Linked DNA regions of Homo sapiens: region 2 is linked to region 1. The links are contacts of gene promoters, found by promoter capture Hi-C in human tissues and cell types (Jung and others, 2019). All regions are on one chromosome and are shown on one strand. Each heading gives the region's core, a stretch centred on a gene start or on the middle of the fragment in contact. The rest is flanking DNA. Distances are from core to core; before and after follow the strand shown. Region 1 holds the start of FBXL4 (F-box and leucine rich repeat protein 4). Region 2 overlaps LOC101927314 (a long non-coding RNA gene).

Region 1 (7,484 bases), core at 1,662-4,161:
TCTGTGTTTATGGATTGGAGGAATAGTTAAAATGTCCATACCTACCCAAAGCAATCTACATATTCAATGCAGTCTCTAACAATATATCAATGATGTTCTTCCCAGAAATAGAAAAAAAAATCCTAAAATTTGTATGGAACCACAGAAAATCCTGGATAGAGAAAACAATGTTGAGCAAAAAGAATAAAGCTGAAGTCATCACAATACGTCACTTCAAAATATATTACAAAGCTATAGCAATCGAAACAGCATGGTAGTGGCATAAAAACAGACACATTAACTAATGGAACAGAATATAGAGGCCAGAAATAAAGCCACACATCTATGGTCAATTGCTTTTTTTACAAAAGGTGCCAAGAACACACAATGGAGAAAGGACAGTCTGTTCAACAGTGTTGGCAAAAACTAATGTCCACACGCAGAAAAATGAAATTAGAACCTTATCTCTCACCATATAGAAAAGTCAAGTCAAAATGGATTAAAGGCTTAAATTTAAGACCCAAAACTATGAAACTTCTAGAAGAAAGCATAGGGAAAAGTCTCCATGACATAAGTCTGGGCAAGATCTTATCTTTTTGGTTAAGATCTGAAACACATAGGCAACAAAAGTGAAAATAGACAAATGGGATAACATCAAGCTTAAAAGCTTCTGCATAGCAAAGGAAACAATCAAGTGAAGAGACAACCCACAGAATGGGAGAAAATATTTGCAAACTATTTATTTAACAAGGGATTAATAACCAGAATATTTTATATAAGGAGCTCAAACAACTCAATAGGAAAGCAAAAACAAAAACAAAAACAAAAACAAATAATCCAATTAAAAAATGGGCAGAAGATCTGAACAGGCATTTCTCAAAAGAAGACATACAAATGGCCAACTGGTATATGAAAAAATGCTCCTTATCACTAATCATCAGATAAATGCAAATCAAAACAATGAGATATCTCACCCCAGTGAGAATGGCTTTTATCAAAAAAAAAAAAAAAAAAAAAAAGCCAGGAACAAAAGATACTGGTGAGAATGTGGAGAAAGGGGAACCCGTGTGCACTGTTGGCAGGAATGAATATTACTAGAGCCACTGTGAAAAACTGTTTGAAGATTCTTCAAAAAACTAAAAATAGAACTACTATATGATTCAGCAATTCTACTATTGGGTATAGATCCAACAGAAAGGAAATACATATATCAAAGAGATATCTGCACTTCTATGTTTATTGCAGCACTATTTACAATAGCCAAGATTTAGAATTGACCTAAGTGTCCGCGCAACAGATGAATGGATAAAGAAAATGGGGTACATATACACAATAGAATATTATTCAGCCATAAAACCCTCCACAAAATCCTTTTATTTGCAACAAACATGGATAGAACTGGAGGTCATTATGATGAGTGAAATAAGCCAAGCACAGAAAGGCAAATAATGCATGTTCTCACTCATATGTGGGAGTTCAGAAAGTGGATCTCAGAGACTGAGAAGTATTGGGGGGGTGGGCCATGGGGGAGCAAGGGGAGGTAAACATACACTTAGAAGAAACATACACTTAGAAGAAATAAGACCCGGTGTTCCATAGATCAGTAGGGTGACTACAGCTAACATTTATCAATAGTACATGTCAAAATAGCCAGAAGAGAACAATTTGAATGTTCCTAGCACAAAGAAAAGATAAATATTTAAGGGGATGAGTAACCCAGTTATGCTGATTTGATTACAGAAATGAATCAAATTATCACATATACCCTGAAAATATGTACAGCTATTATGCATCAAAAAGTTGAAGAAAATAAAAATTTTAATTTTTTTGTATACAATGTATATTGCATATCATATATTGATTCTGTTCATATATAAGTAAATATCCTTACTGGTTTGCCTCATTGGAGCATTCAGACAGCAAATAATGTGTAGTTCAACATTTTATTAAATATTTTCCATCTTAGTGGATATTTTGTAACAAGATAAATATGATGCAAACTAAAAAAAGTGCCAAGGGCGGGCGCGGTGGCTCACGGCTGTAATCCCAGCACTTTAGGAGGCTGAGGCAGGTGGATCACAAGGTCAGGAGATCAAGACCATCCTAGCCAATATGGTGAAACCCCGTCTCTACTAAAAATACAAAATATTAGCTTGGCGCCCTTGTAGTCCCAGCTACTCGGGAGGCTGAGGCAGGAGAATCGCTTGAACCTGGGAGGTGGAGGTTGCAGTGAGCCGAGATCGCGCCACTGCACTCCAGCCTGGCGACAGAGCGAGACTCCGTCTCAAAAAATACATAAATAAATAAATAAAGTGCCATACTGAATCTACCAAAAATAAATCAAAATGAGTAAGAGAGGCTGCCAGACCATCTTCTTCATCAGAGGTAATGGTCAGAGGCTTCTGAACGTTGGTATGGAAATGAGCCTGCAGGCAGGATTTGTATGCAGGGAAGAGGAGGTTTGTAAACTAGGTGAATTATACCTTCAGAGTGCATATAATGTATATTATACTTTTCCTCTACGTATGCGTACCAGCCGTATTACCTATGTATCATCTGATCCACCAAGTCTGGACTGAAGAAGTCCTTGTAGGACCACACTACACATGGCGAGCCGGTACTCGGAAGGGATTATTCCGAAGAGGATTTGTAGACACTACCCGCTGTGTATGACCTAGGCCCTTTACACGGGCACCACTGGAGCTAGGAAGCCAGCAGAAAGCTCCTCCCCCTGGCCTGGGAGCGGGCTGTCCGTAGGACCCAGAGCACCTCCCATGGGAGAAACGCCCGGCTTTGCTTCTGGCCCCGCCCCGCCTCCCTCCAGGCCCCGCCCCGCCTCCCCGGCCCCGCCCCAACCCCGCGGCCCCGCCCCTCCTCCCCGGCTCCGCCCCGCCTCCCCGGGCCCGCCGCTCCTCGCGGCCTCCGCGTCTTCCTTCCGGGTCGCGCTAGGCCGGGCTTGCGGCGGTTGTGCCGCATCTAGAGAGTCGGGGAGCCGCCCCCGCACCCAGGCCTTCTCGCGCTGCCTGGTCGCTGGTGAAGCCCGCGGCGCGCGCCTCTCCCGGACCCTGCAGGGTACGGCCCTTCCTTTACTTCTCCCTCCCGTGGGTCTCTGTCTTCTTCCTTTGGCGCCGGGGCGGGGCCGGGGCCGAGCCAGCGCGCAGCTCCGCGCTTTGGGGAGTCTGGACGCCTGGCAGAGGCCCCCGCTGCCCGCCCCTCCCCGCCCGCGGCCCCGCGCCCCCGCGCCTCCGCTTCACGCTTGCGGGGCTTGCTGGGGCCCTTGAGAACTGCTGACGTGCCTCGGGCTCTTTCTACGCTACAGTCTGCCTGCAGGCTGTGAGGCGTCGTTCGGACGTGTGCGCGGCTCAGGGTTGTTTACACCGCGGGGGACTGCGGGTCGCCCCACACCCGCGCTCAGTGCTGCGCCGGCAGCCACGCGTCGGCCACATGCCCGCCTGTGCTTGTGATTCCTGTGCCTGCTGCCTTGATTTCCCTCTGACATCCGATGGTTTTTGCCTAACCAGGCCTGTTTTCTTTCTTCAGGACTGCTACAGGGTGCCCAGCTACAACCTTGTTTCTGTGTTTAGGTTTAGGGGTGCCCCTAGAGTGTGATGATGACCATCTACTTGGCCTCCTTGTCGACATATTTATAACGGGTGGTTTTGGATTTCCTTGATTTCCCAGTAATCATTGCCACAAACCTTCGAGATGCATTCACAGATTGAAATACAGTATACAAATAACTATTATAGAAGGTGAAGATGGTATAAGCCTGTGGTCAGGTAGTTGCGTTGGCAGGATGCCCGTCTGGCTTTGTGCTCCGGAGGGCACATTACCACCAGGTGCAGGGATCTCTGCTTGCTTTGGTCTGTTCACAGACACAAGCTGCCTTTTCTGGTTCTTGCGTGCACTCCTTGGTTTCTTAAGTTCAGCTATAGGTATATATTTTTTTCTTTCAGGCTCACTTCCTGCCTCCATTATCCTGTACCGCATATTGTATCTGTTGGTTGAGTAGAGAGAGATTCATCCAGAGTCATCAGCGCTCCAATAGTCCTTTATCAGATTAAGGACTTGAGGGAAATGTGCATTATGCTTTAGTAGGCACTCTAAAAGTTCCTTGAATTGGATTCTTCTTTCCATACTTATGTTCTGAGTACTAACTTTGTTTTAAACTTCTGCGCCAAAAGTTGGCTTTTCTGAACTCTGCATTTTCAAACTCTTCCCTTCTGTTATTTGAAAATCAGATAAGTCAACTCATTGTAAGATGGATAATTTCTTTACTCACGCCGTGATGAAATAATGCGATTATAGTACTCTGTACAATGGTACATATGGTACTTGCACATATGGTCAGTTAACAAAAACTGCCCCTTCTTTCTTTACTGTGTTAGTCTCATCCTCTTAATGTTGCTGCGGTTAACATTCTCGATCTTAACTTCGCGGATCTAACACAGTGTCCTTTAAAAAAGGCCTTTATCTACATGAATTGTATATAAATATCCACCTCCGTTTTCTTCTAGTATTGTTAATGATCTTATTTATATTTAATGTGAGATAAGAAGGCTCTAACTTTATAATTTTGTTAGTGACTCCATCATCATTTGTTGGAATTCTATTTTTCCCTGCTGATCAGTCCTATAAATACCATAGGCCCTAAATTCCCGTGTATTCTTGGGACTTTCTGAACGGTCTAGTATTCTTTGGCTCCCTGTGGTGATCCTGGCTTCTGTGATGCTCTTATTGCTCTAGGTTTATAATGTGTTTTAATATCTAGGGATTTGAACGATGCCTGGCATATTGTAGACATCACTAAATATTTTTGAAATGAACACATTTAGTGGGGGCAAGTTGATTCCCTTTCTTTACCTCTTGCCTCCCTCCCCCCTTTAAAATTTTCCTGCCAGTTATTGAGATTCATTTATTTTAGCTTGCTTTTTCCATGGTCAGTTGAATCATTAACTGTTAGTAAATAAATCCCTTCTGTTGCTCATTCAGAACTTGCGACTAGAGTTGCTCCTTACAGTTACATAGAGAAGCAGCCTGATTAAAAATCTGCATGCCTTTTGACTTTGCACCGTGTCATAGTAACTGTAGTGTGTCTCTCCCCATCACCTGTGATTTAGGATGTTCTGTACCTGGTTTCTAAGAGAAAAATGGTTATCTAAGAGATAAATGGCTGTAGAAGTGTTCCCTGGGATATGAGGAAGATATCCTCATATCCATTTGTATTTTACCATCACAACTGGATATCTAAAATATAATAAATTTTACACTGGACACTTAAAACTTTATTAGCCCATGAAATAAATGTATGCATTCTTTAAAAAAGATCAAGCAATACAGAAATCCTTAAAGGAGGAAGTGAAAGTGCTGTGTGCCCACCTACCCAGTAACCTTGTTCCATAAAGATGATCACTGCTTGCAGATTTTAAAAATAAATATATTTAAGTCTACTTTTGTTTCATAAATGGCAGTGTACCATCTATAATTTTCTATAGCTTCCACTTAATAATAATTGATAAACATCCTTCTGTGTCAGTGCATATAATAGTATCTTGTCTTTTTTGTAAGTCTTTTGGTATTTCATTGTAGGAATAACCCAAAAGTTATTTAGCCAGTCCCCTGTTGGCATTATTCCAAATTTATTACAAACAGAACTGCAAGGATCATTTTTGTGTTTATTCTGTATACTGTCATGTTTGCATGTTAGTTCATTTCCTAAGATATGGAATTGCTAGGTCAGAGGCTACACATAAGTGTTAAATTATGAGAGATTCTGCCAAAGTGCTCCTCAAAAGTTGTTGGTAAGAGTAAATTTATACAATTTGTTAAAATATTGCTTTTGCCATATCACATTGCCAAGAATTGTCAAGGATCTGAGATCATACCCTACTTGCAAGCTAACAGTTTCATGGAAACTGGCAGAAAATATGAGACTCCTGACTCAGAGACAAAGCACAACAGGAACGGTAGCCAGAGGATCATCTTATGCTGATTTGCTGGAACCCTGATTTCCACAGGGTGATGTGATAAGAGCCCAGTGACACTAGCAGATGAAGTAGGTTATGTTACAGGAGAGGAGTCCTTAGTTTAGGGAACCTGAATCTTTCATAGTGGGCTGCAAATAAAGCTGTCTGATCTTTGCCAGAGAGGGAGACATTATCTTTATTTTCCCACATGGTAAACAAACCTGCCCTCTGTACCAGAGGGAGACATCTCTTTATCTGCCAAGGCTATTTGCTATATAAACACCACTGAAAAGATAAAAAATAAAGGCCGTCAGTGCCTCTACTTATATGATATGCAGAAACTTGAGAGGCCTGCTAAGATGAAATGATTATTTTTTATATTTAGTAATTTTATGGATGAAAAATGCTATTTTATTGTTTTAGTATTGCATTTCTTTGCTTATTGATGAGGTTGACTATCTGTATGTTTGTTGGTCATTTGTATTCGTTTTTACTTGCATGATCATATCCCTTGCTTAGGTTTCTGTTGAAATGTTCCTCTTTTCTAATTGATTTGTAATAGCTCTTTACATATTGTGGCTATTAATGATTTGGTTCACCATTTGCTAGTATTTTCTCATAGTCTATTCTTTAGTGTTTCTTGGGGCTTTTGCTTTATAAAAATCTTTAATATTTATGTTGCCAGTTCTGCTGTTGTTTTCCTTTACGGCCTCTGGGTTTCCACCGGAAGATTATTAAAATACTCTTTGTACACATTCTGTTATCATAGATATAGATTTTTAAAAATGGTTGCTATGGCATACTATTACAAATTTATTTTTCCAAATTGCTGGACATTTTCCTAAAACATTTATTTTGATAAACTGTCCTTTCCCTGTTATTTGATTTGACACATTTGTTGTAAGATACTATATCCTTAATTTGTTGTTTTTCTCAAAGCCAACAAATTAGTAAGCAAAGTATGTTAGATGTTTACTGTGATTATGATTTTGGTTGAATTCAGCCTTAAAGATAATATGTGTAATTGTTCTTAGTGGATTTTATCTTAAAGAATATGAAGTATCTTTTTTGCCCTGTTTAGTGATTTTTTGGCTGGGAGTCTACATTGTCTTATATGACTTTTGCCTCTCTGTCAGTTTTGTGTGTACCTGATAGGTCTTTTTTGTCCATATGTTTATTATGTTTATTTTCAGTCATTTTACACCATTTTGCTTTACTTGCCTTTCATAAACATCAAACATTCATGTAACTGAGCTGAACTTTTATTTCTCCCTGAAATCTTCCCCCTTGCCAATTTGGAAGTTTGTCTTCTTTTTTTTTTTTTTTTTTTTTGAGACAGAGTCTTGCTCTGTCACCCATGCTGGAGTGCAGTGGTGTAATGTGTAATTTTGGCTCACTGCAACCTCCATCTCCTGGACTTAAGTGATCCTCCTGCCTCAGCCTCTCAAGTAGCCTGGACTGCAGGTGCATGCCACAATACCTGGCTAATTTTTGTGTTTTTTGTAGAGATGGGGCTTCACCATGTTGCCCAGGCTGGTC
Region 2 (7,484 bases), core at 3,661-6,160, 1.3 Mb after region 1:
GGATAAGTATGGATGTGTCATGATTAAAGCAAAACATGTGAGGTATGATGGCCTGAGTTGAAGGACTGTTATGCCCTATTACTTACATATTCCTGAGAATATGTATTTCACATCTCTTAGCCTTACCTTCCTCTCCTGTGAAATGAAGTTAATAATACTTAGCTCATAGCGTCATTGGGAAGACTGAGGAGGTTATGAATTTAATGACATCTACAGTAGTACTTAGCATTTAGTATGCATCAATAAGTGTTTGGTGCTGATGCCTTTACGGCTAAAATTTTCACTCTGACCTCTCTAACAGAGATGTCATCTCCATTTCAAAAAGCAAGTTAAAGGCCAAGGGCCAAGGATTGAGAAAAGATCCTTGAGAAAGGACTGCATTTATTGTGAATGGAAAGAAATGGTTCATAACTCCTCCTTTTCTCCTTATTTCAAGAAACTCCTGAAATCTTATCTTGTCCATAAAACCTTCCCATTTCTTGCTTCTCTCTACATCGTACACTTCTATGATGATTCTAACTGTTCCCTCTACTCTCTTCACTGACCCATTGGCATAGAATGTTATTTGCATGCAATTGTTAATTTAGTTTATACACTTAGCTAGTGGCTGTCTTCTAGTCTTTGTGCCTTGTGTGTAAAACTTTGTTAATTCTATATGTCTTAGAGAAAAAAGCTCCCTGGTAGCCTAGGCTTGCTTTTCTTGCCTCTCCATTTGCATAATGTTGTATAGCACCATGTAAATACAGATACTTGATTAATGGTTTCTGACAGATGCTATCAAATAAAATATCAGTACTGCAAAATTATAAATGTATATAGTTCTTCTAACCATAATTTTGATCCTTTTTTTCTAAATCCACATAATTTCACTTTGTCTTGAGCTATACTCCTTGGTGCACTGTAATTTGAATAAAACATACACCTGAAAGATCTACTTAAGAGGAAAAAGACATAAAAACTAAATTGAGAAGCTAAATCAGGCTATTAAAAATAATCAATATTCCCCCATGGGATATCTTCTCTCTCCCTTGCTTCCTCCCTCCCTCGTGTGTGTGTGTGTGTGTGTGTGTGTGTGTCTGTGTCTCACAATGCTTCCATAATGCAACATCCTAGAAAGAGGTGATTGTCAGGATAATAATCTTTATATCACCTATCACCTAACATGTTTATTATCACTTACCTTTATTTAAATACGCAATAGTGAAATGAGTTCATCTGCACCCATCCCTTTTAGTGCAGATTTTTGGTTTGCCCTTAGTATAGCCAAGAAAGAAGATCCCAGCTGGTAACTTTCTCAAAAAGAAAAGAAGAAATGATTTGTAATGGACTGAGCTCAGGGTAAAATGTCAGGTGATCCTGATTTTTTGGGTTACAAAAATCCTTCAAACTTTAAGCTGCTACTAGCCTTGTAGAGATTCTGAACCACTGGAGATGTTAAGTAGAGATTCAGCAGAACTGAAGTATCTTCATGGATTTTATCACTTTGTTGTATAACTGAAACTATAGTTACCATCAGTCACTGTTATTTTATTTCGTGTGTGGTGTGTGTGTGTGTGTGTGTGAGAGAGAGAGAGAGAGAGAGAGAGAAAGAGAGAGAGAGAAAGAGAGATACATTTTGGTCATTTTATTTAAAAATAGTTCACCTTCAGAAATAGAAATATGGGATCTATTGATAAACAATGGTACCACTACGACTCTTAAAATTCAAGAAAACAATTAATTACACAAGAAGAGCTACCCTAAAGTTCTCTCCAGAGAGGTCCCAAAGTCAAGATAAAAAGTCTGTTGTTGGGGACATTTTCAGCATAACCTTCTCCTGGGCAGAAAAATGAGTCACTGCCCATATTTCTCAGTTAATATTTTCTTGCCTTATTTTAATGTAGGAAAATACAGAAACGATCTACAGCTGTAAGAATGTGAAATATTCGGGCATCATTCGGGGTTCTCATATGACAAGATTTATCAATCTTTAAAATGCTCAAAAGGCTGTGAGAACAAAAACTGTCAAACACAATCACACAACGGGGCTCCACAGCACCAGAAGAAATTAAGTGAGGATTTCACCAAGTAAGCTGCTCCTTCACACACTCACAGCAGCCAAGAAGAAACAGCAAGCGCTGCGGAGTTGGAAAAAACCTTGCCTCACATGTGGAATAGAACGACACCTACATAGAAAAATAGCGAGCTGGTGCAGTTATCGGCACTGACATTTCAGCTCAACTCCCTCCCTCCCTCTCTCTCTCTTTCCTCCTCAGTCCCACGGGCAGCTGCGGCATTGACAGAAGGCCTGTGTCAGTTTCCATCTGACTGTCACTCTCACTTCTGCCTCTATTATCAGCAGTGCACTGGGGCAGTCCCCGCTTGGAAGGGCTGCTGATCTCTATCTCTCCACTCTACGCTGCCCCTGCCATGAACCTGACTAAGAAGGAGCCAGCCAGAGAGAGCAGGGGGGAAAGGCTGTGCTCTGGGAAAGGGAACTGGGGGAGGGAGGAGGCGGGCGGTTGGGAGGGAAGAGGATGAGAAAAGAAAAGAGAGAAAAACCAACCAAAAAAGGTTAGGGAGGGTAGGGGTGGGCCAGAGGGTGGGGGCGGTAGCGAAGAGGAACAGACCGAGATGAGTGGGGGGCACTGATACAGTTTGGGTCCTTTTCTTATTTTTCCTATCCATTCTCCAGCGTTCAGTCTTTTGTGTCAGCTTTCAGAAATGCTCTGTTTGACTGGCAGCCTGTCACAGATCAGTTACCACCTAAAGCCGCTTGGCAGCGAGAGGTGACGGCCCAGGAAGGGATCTAAGTGGGTTTATCAGTGCTTCTTTACGCCTCGTGAGCTCCTTGACACAAAAGGAAAGGGTATTAAAGATCTAAAGCGAGCCCAAAAGCGTGAAAGCTCCTTATAGGCTGCAGGATGTGGATGTGACTAAATTTTTAAATATTTTGAGTTGATGCTATTCATTTTGCCAATAGAGTAGAAAGAATTTTTGTTACAGAAATGAGTGTATGTTCCACTTGAGTGAGATTTGGAAAAGGGAGGAAGTCCCTAAAATATGTGCTTAGAATATTACAACCGCCCTGTATTTAAAATCATGCATCTGTTTTGAATATAAATAAAATGAGACGCATTTTAAATAAAAATTTAACATTTACATGATTCAAGTTCATTTTAACATTACAGATTTCACTTTTTATGTTTAAACATTATAATTTAATATTCGGCATTTAATTTTTTTGGTGGAAATGGTAAATATGGAAAAGATCCAGAATTCATTAGTTCTCTGCCATATCTTCTCTCTTGGTCCTTTATGCATGGATTATTATTAAAGTAGTGTATTTTTAGCATGCCAATAGCTTCTCTCAACACATTCCTACAATGATAATGGTCCTACTACAGATATCCAAGGCACAGAGCCGTCCCCTTTTTTACCTAATGATAATATTTACTACTATTTTGTTATCTATCTTAAAAGGCCAAGGCTTCCATGGAATATCATTTGAGACGTATGATAATGAATTATCAATGATAACCTACTTTCTGATATCCAGACCGGACAGATTTAATTTAGAAAATGAGTACACCAAACATACTTCTGATCCCACAAACCACATATGATCATGGCAGCCAGTTTCTCATCACAAGCTATTAACTCTGGCATCAGGAGGCCCTGCATCCTGAATGCCTGCTAAAGGATTCTGGATTTGATTTTTTGTTATAATGAAAATCATGAGAAAATAAGTGATTTTTAATAATGTGTTAAAATAGGAAGTTTTCTAATTTCTTGATTTTACATAGAAAAGGCACCCCTTTTTAGTCCCTTTATTGTTTGTTTGCCAACCTGGTTTCTTTCCCCCTTTTTTTAGACTCCATGAATATTACCAAACCTCTCTCAGAGAAATTCCTGCTTGGCTGAAATTCTCTATTTCTTGACATCAATTTATAGACTAATAGATGTGTGAGGATAATCAAATTCAGCTCTATCATTTTATATATAAATACGTGTTTAAACAGTTTCCTACCTATACAGTGCCCTACATAATCTTACTGAGTCCATATTATTATTATTTAAAAATAAATAAAATAAGATTATCTAAGGAACAAAGAAGTCAAGCAAAAAAAGCACATGGGCAAAGGGATTTTGGGGTCAGAAAGACTTAGTCTTCTAGTTACTAACTGCATGGCCTTAGGTAAGTTAACCCTGACATTAACTATTCTAAACTTGGTTCTCTAATCTATAATGGGGAAAAAAATCTACCTTATAGTGTTGCTATGAGAATTAATGAGATAACACACTAAAATTTGGGGTACAATGAATAGCACATGGTAAGCATTCAATAAATAATTGCTATATTATTTCTAATTATTAGTCCAACCAGGCATCAGGTTGTGCACAGGTGTTATCACTTAAAACAAAGACGCCTGCTTTGTTTAAATTTGGGGTTAAATAGTTCAACTTGGAAACCCTGGTTAGCATTGTGAAAACAATTGTCTGTCAATTGCTTCCATACTGTTATTTATTGTTCTAAATTATCAAGACTTCTACAATAAGTAGAAGCTCTTCATTTTTCATTGAAACTAAGAGTCAAAAAGAAAGAGAAGATCCAGTAGAAGCAGGCTTTTCAGGTATGTTTACCATGAAGCATTCAGAATTTCAGTATGACTTTTACCTCAGTTTCAGAAGCTATAGAATTAAGTTAATTGTGTTACTTTTTATTGTAAACAGGCTATAGTCCCACAAAAACTATTTTCATACTGGCCAACATCAATCAGATCAGTGAGGACACCACATAGGATAGTTAGGAAGATGTAGGAGATGATGTAGGGGGTAAGGAGCAAATTTAAAAAAAAAAAAGAAAAGAAAATTAAAATTTTAAATTATCAGTCAAGGTCTCATTGTCTAACCTCATCTTCAACCAAATTTATCTCATGACTGGTATCTTCTATTAATGGCAATTAATTACATAAAACAGAAAGGAGAAGATCATTGACTGCAGTCTCAATGGCAATTTTTCAAATCCATGACCAGGGAAGAAGGAGGAGCTGAAAGAATGGTAAAGCTTGTTCAATCCCCATATGTGCCCATTAACTTCACAAAAAGAAAACTGCTCCTAGACACAGCCCCAACCGCCGCTGGTCATCTCACAAATGTGCCACTGGTCATGTACAAAAGAATGTGGATGGCTCTTGTCACAACTTCTAAAAATCATGGTGGGAATAGTGACTATGTCTACTTACTGAACAATGCTCAAGTAACCAGTCAAAGGCTTTAAAGATTTTCTTTCTTTGTTTCTTTCTGTTTCTTTTTTGTTTGTTTTATCTCAAACTAATTTGCATTTGTGGAAGGGTAGCATTTTCTGAAGGAGAAAATGCATGTTTTCTTTGCTTCATGATTGGGGGAGCAAGTAAAAAAATGACAATGATTAAAAAAGTGAGATGTTGCACTGAATCAACAATTTGAAAACATAATTTAGAGCCACTAAAATATGCCTACTAGAAAATATTAAAACATCTTTTCAAATACAAGGTCCTTATATCCTCAGAAATTATTTTATATACATAATTTTATACATATATAATTTGATATAGATTGTTCTACAGAAGATAGAAACAATATAGAGAATAAATAAATTTTGATTCAATATATTAAATATACAGATTTTTGGTAGCTCTATATCTCAGTATCCTCAGGTCATTTAATGGAAAACTAGAAATATGCTAGTAAGAGATGGTAAAAAATAAATTATGGTTGATGATATGAAGACATGAGAGGCCTGTTTTAGTAAAAGGCTCCATGTATACCAATCCTCTTCCTAATCCATTAGGACTGTACCAGCATGTTAGCACTCACAGAGCATCATCTTTTCAGCCCAGAACATTGCCATTAATTTATGATTCTATAGCTAGCAGAAACAACCTGGTTGCAAACTTACATGCTCTGGGCATCAAATAAACTAATTAAACCGATCTATACAGTAATTGTCTTCTACTGTTTACTGATTAAAAAGCCCTTGAAATAATGAGAATTCCTTGCAGTAGGAAGGCTTGGACCCATGAGCTATGATGATTATCGGCGGTCTCAGAACTCCTCCTTGAGGACATGAGGTTAAGAGGCGGTGAGGAGGAAGAAAATGCCTGGCCCGCCTCTCAACAGTCACCTTTCTGTCTGGGTCTCTGACTCTGAGACAAGTGTAACTCATCTCAGAGTTTAGAACTCAGATTCTTCATGGTCAATACTTCTTAACCAACATTGCAAGCAAGCTCAGGAGATTCTTTAGATAAATGACTTACACAAGGGCAAAAGCTATAAGGGAAAGATTAGTATAAATATAACTCTATACGAATAGTAGGACATTCTTACTCAATTTGTCCATAATTTATACTTTTTTTCTAAAAATAAAAATCATTTGCTTCTAGATAAAAGAATTTATGATTCTGGCAACAACATGGTGAGGAATATATGCATTACTAGTTAGACAAAAAACAATTTCCAAAGATTTTTAGAATTGTATGGAAGTCTCAACCACCAACATTTGGGGATGGTTTTCTTACATTTTATAAAGAAATGCAAAAGCTGAGATAACATTCTGAACATTTCTCACAACCCTCAGAATCCTGGAACATTGAATAACCTAGGCAATGTTTATGATCACTTTCTGTGCTTAGCCCTTTGCACTCAAAAATACAATATGGTTTACAATTATGTTAGAAAATTTTGTTTTAAGATTCCACAATAATCCAGATCAAGATATATTTTCTGGAGATTCTCAGTAGCACCTGTCAATTATTTCGCTACTGCTTTCACCTTTAAAAACAAAAAGGAAAAGCAGAAGAAAGACGTTTATAATAAATTACTTTAAAAAATGGAGATGAGTGCATTACAGAAATGTCCTTAAGACACCTAATTTCTATTTTTATGTGTGCCTAAAACTTAAGAGCTACTAAACTATTCTCGTGTATATTGTTTTAAAATTTATATAAATAGCTCTCAGGTTGAAAATGCTTGCTAACTTTCTGCATGAACTGAACTATCACTAGGAAATCTTCTCAAAAAGAGTGCACAATGAAAACTCAAATGCAGCTGTTAGCTGCAATTACCTATTGTGGTAAGAGTCATGTCCAACCTCTTGTAAGGTGCTAATGTTCATTTAAAGCCAGAAAGACAGACCCTATTTTTTACTAAAATAGAGGCCCTCGAATCATTAATAACTGCTGTCAACAAGATGACAAAGCAGCTTTTTAAAGTTTGATTTACAGTGTTAGTTCTGTGTTCATATCCCTCATTAGCTCTGATTCATAACTAGACAAGACAGGGCCAATATTACTGCTCTAAAGTGAAATATTATCACAACTTGATTTTTTTTTTTTTTTGCTTTAAATGGATGTGTTTTGTTGGGGTGCCCAAATATAAATTGTCTTGCCTTTGGGACATTTATTTAAATTTTTAGAAAGTAAGTTCTGGTGAATAAAAATAAATAATTATTACAATTTAAAATT

What was found. The method cuts DNA at HindIII sites, captures the fragments that hold promoters and counts their contacts. A contact is called where the count stands out against the background at its distance.
Region 2: a contact is called between a fragment that was not itself captured here and the fragment with the promoter of FBXL4 in region 1, in 1 of the 25 tissues and cell types used here (dorsolateral prefrontal cortex).

Annotation. Positions count from the first base shown.
Region 1 is chr6:98,943,373-98,950,856 of GRCh38, reverse strand. It overlaps FBXL4 (F-box and leucine rich repeat protein 4), which reads left to right and starts at 2,911. Exons shown (of 10, transcript NM_001278716.2): 1 at 2,911-3,051. RefSeq lists silencers at 2,490-2,784, 3,082-3,391 and enhancers at 2,517-3,028, 3,832-4,021. The HindIII fragment of the contact is 15,139 bases long and covers 1-7,484 here.
Region 2 is chr6:97,664,205-97,671,688 of GRCh38, reverse strand. The region is part of intron 3 of LOC101927314 (a long non-coding RNA gene); the gene reads right to left. Among named protein-coding and RNA genes, the nearest start is that of MIR2113, 360 kb to the left of the region's middle. RefSeq lists an enhancer at 2,622-3,480. The HindIII fragment of the contact is 4,876 bases long and covers 2,473-7,348 here.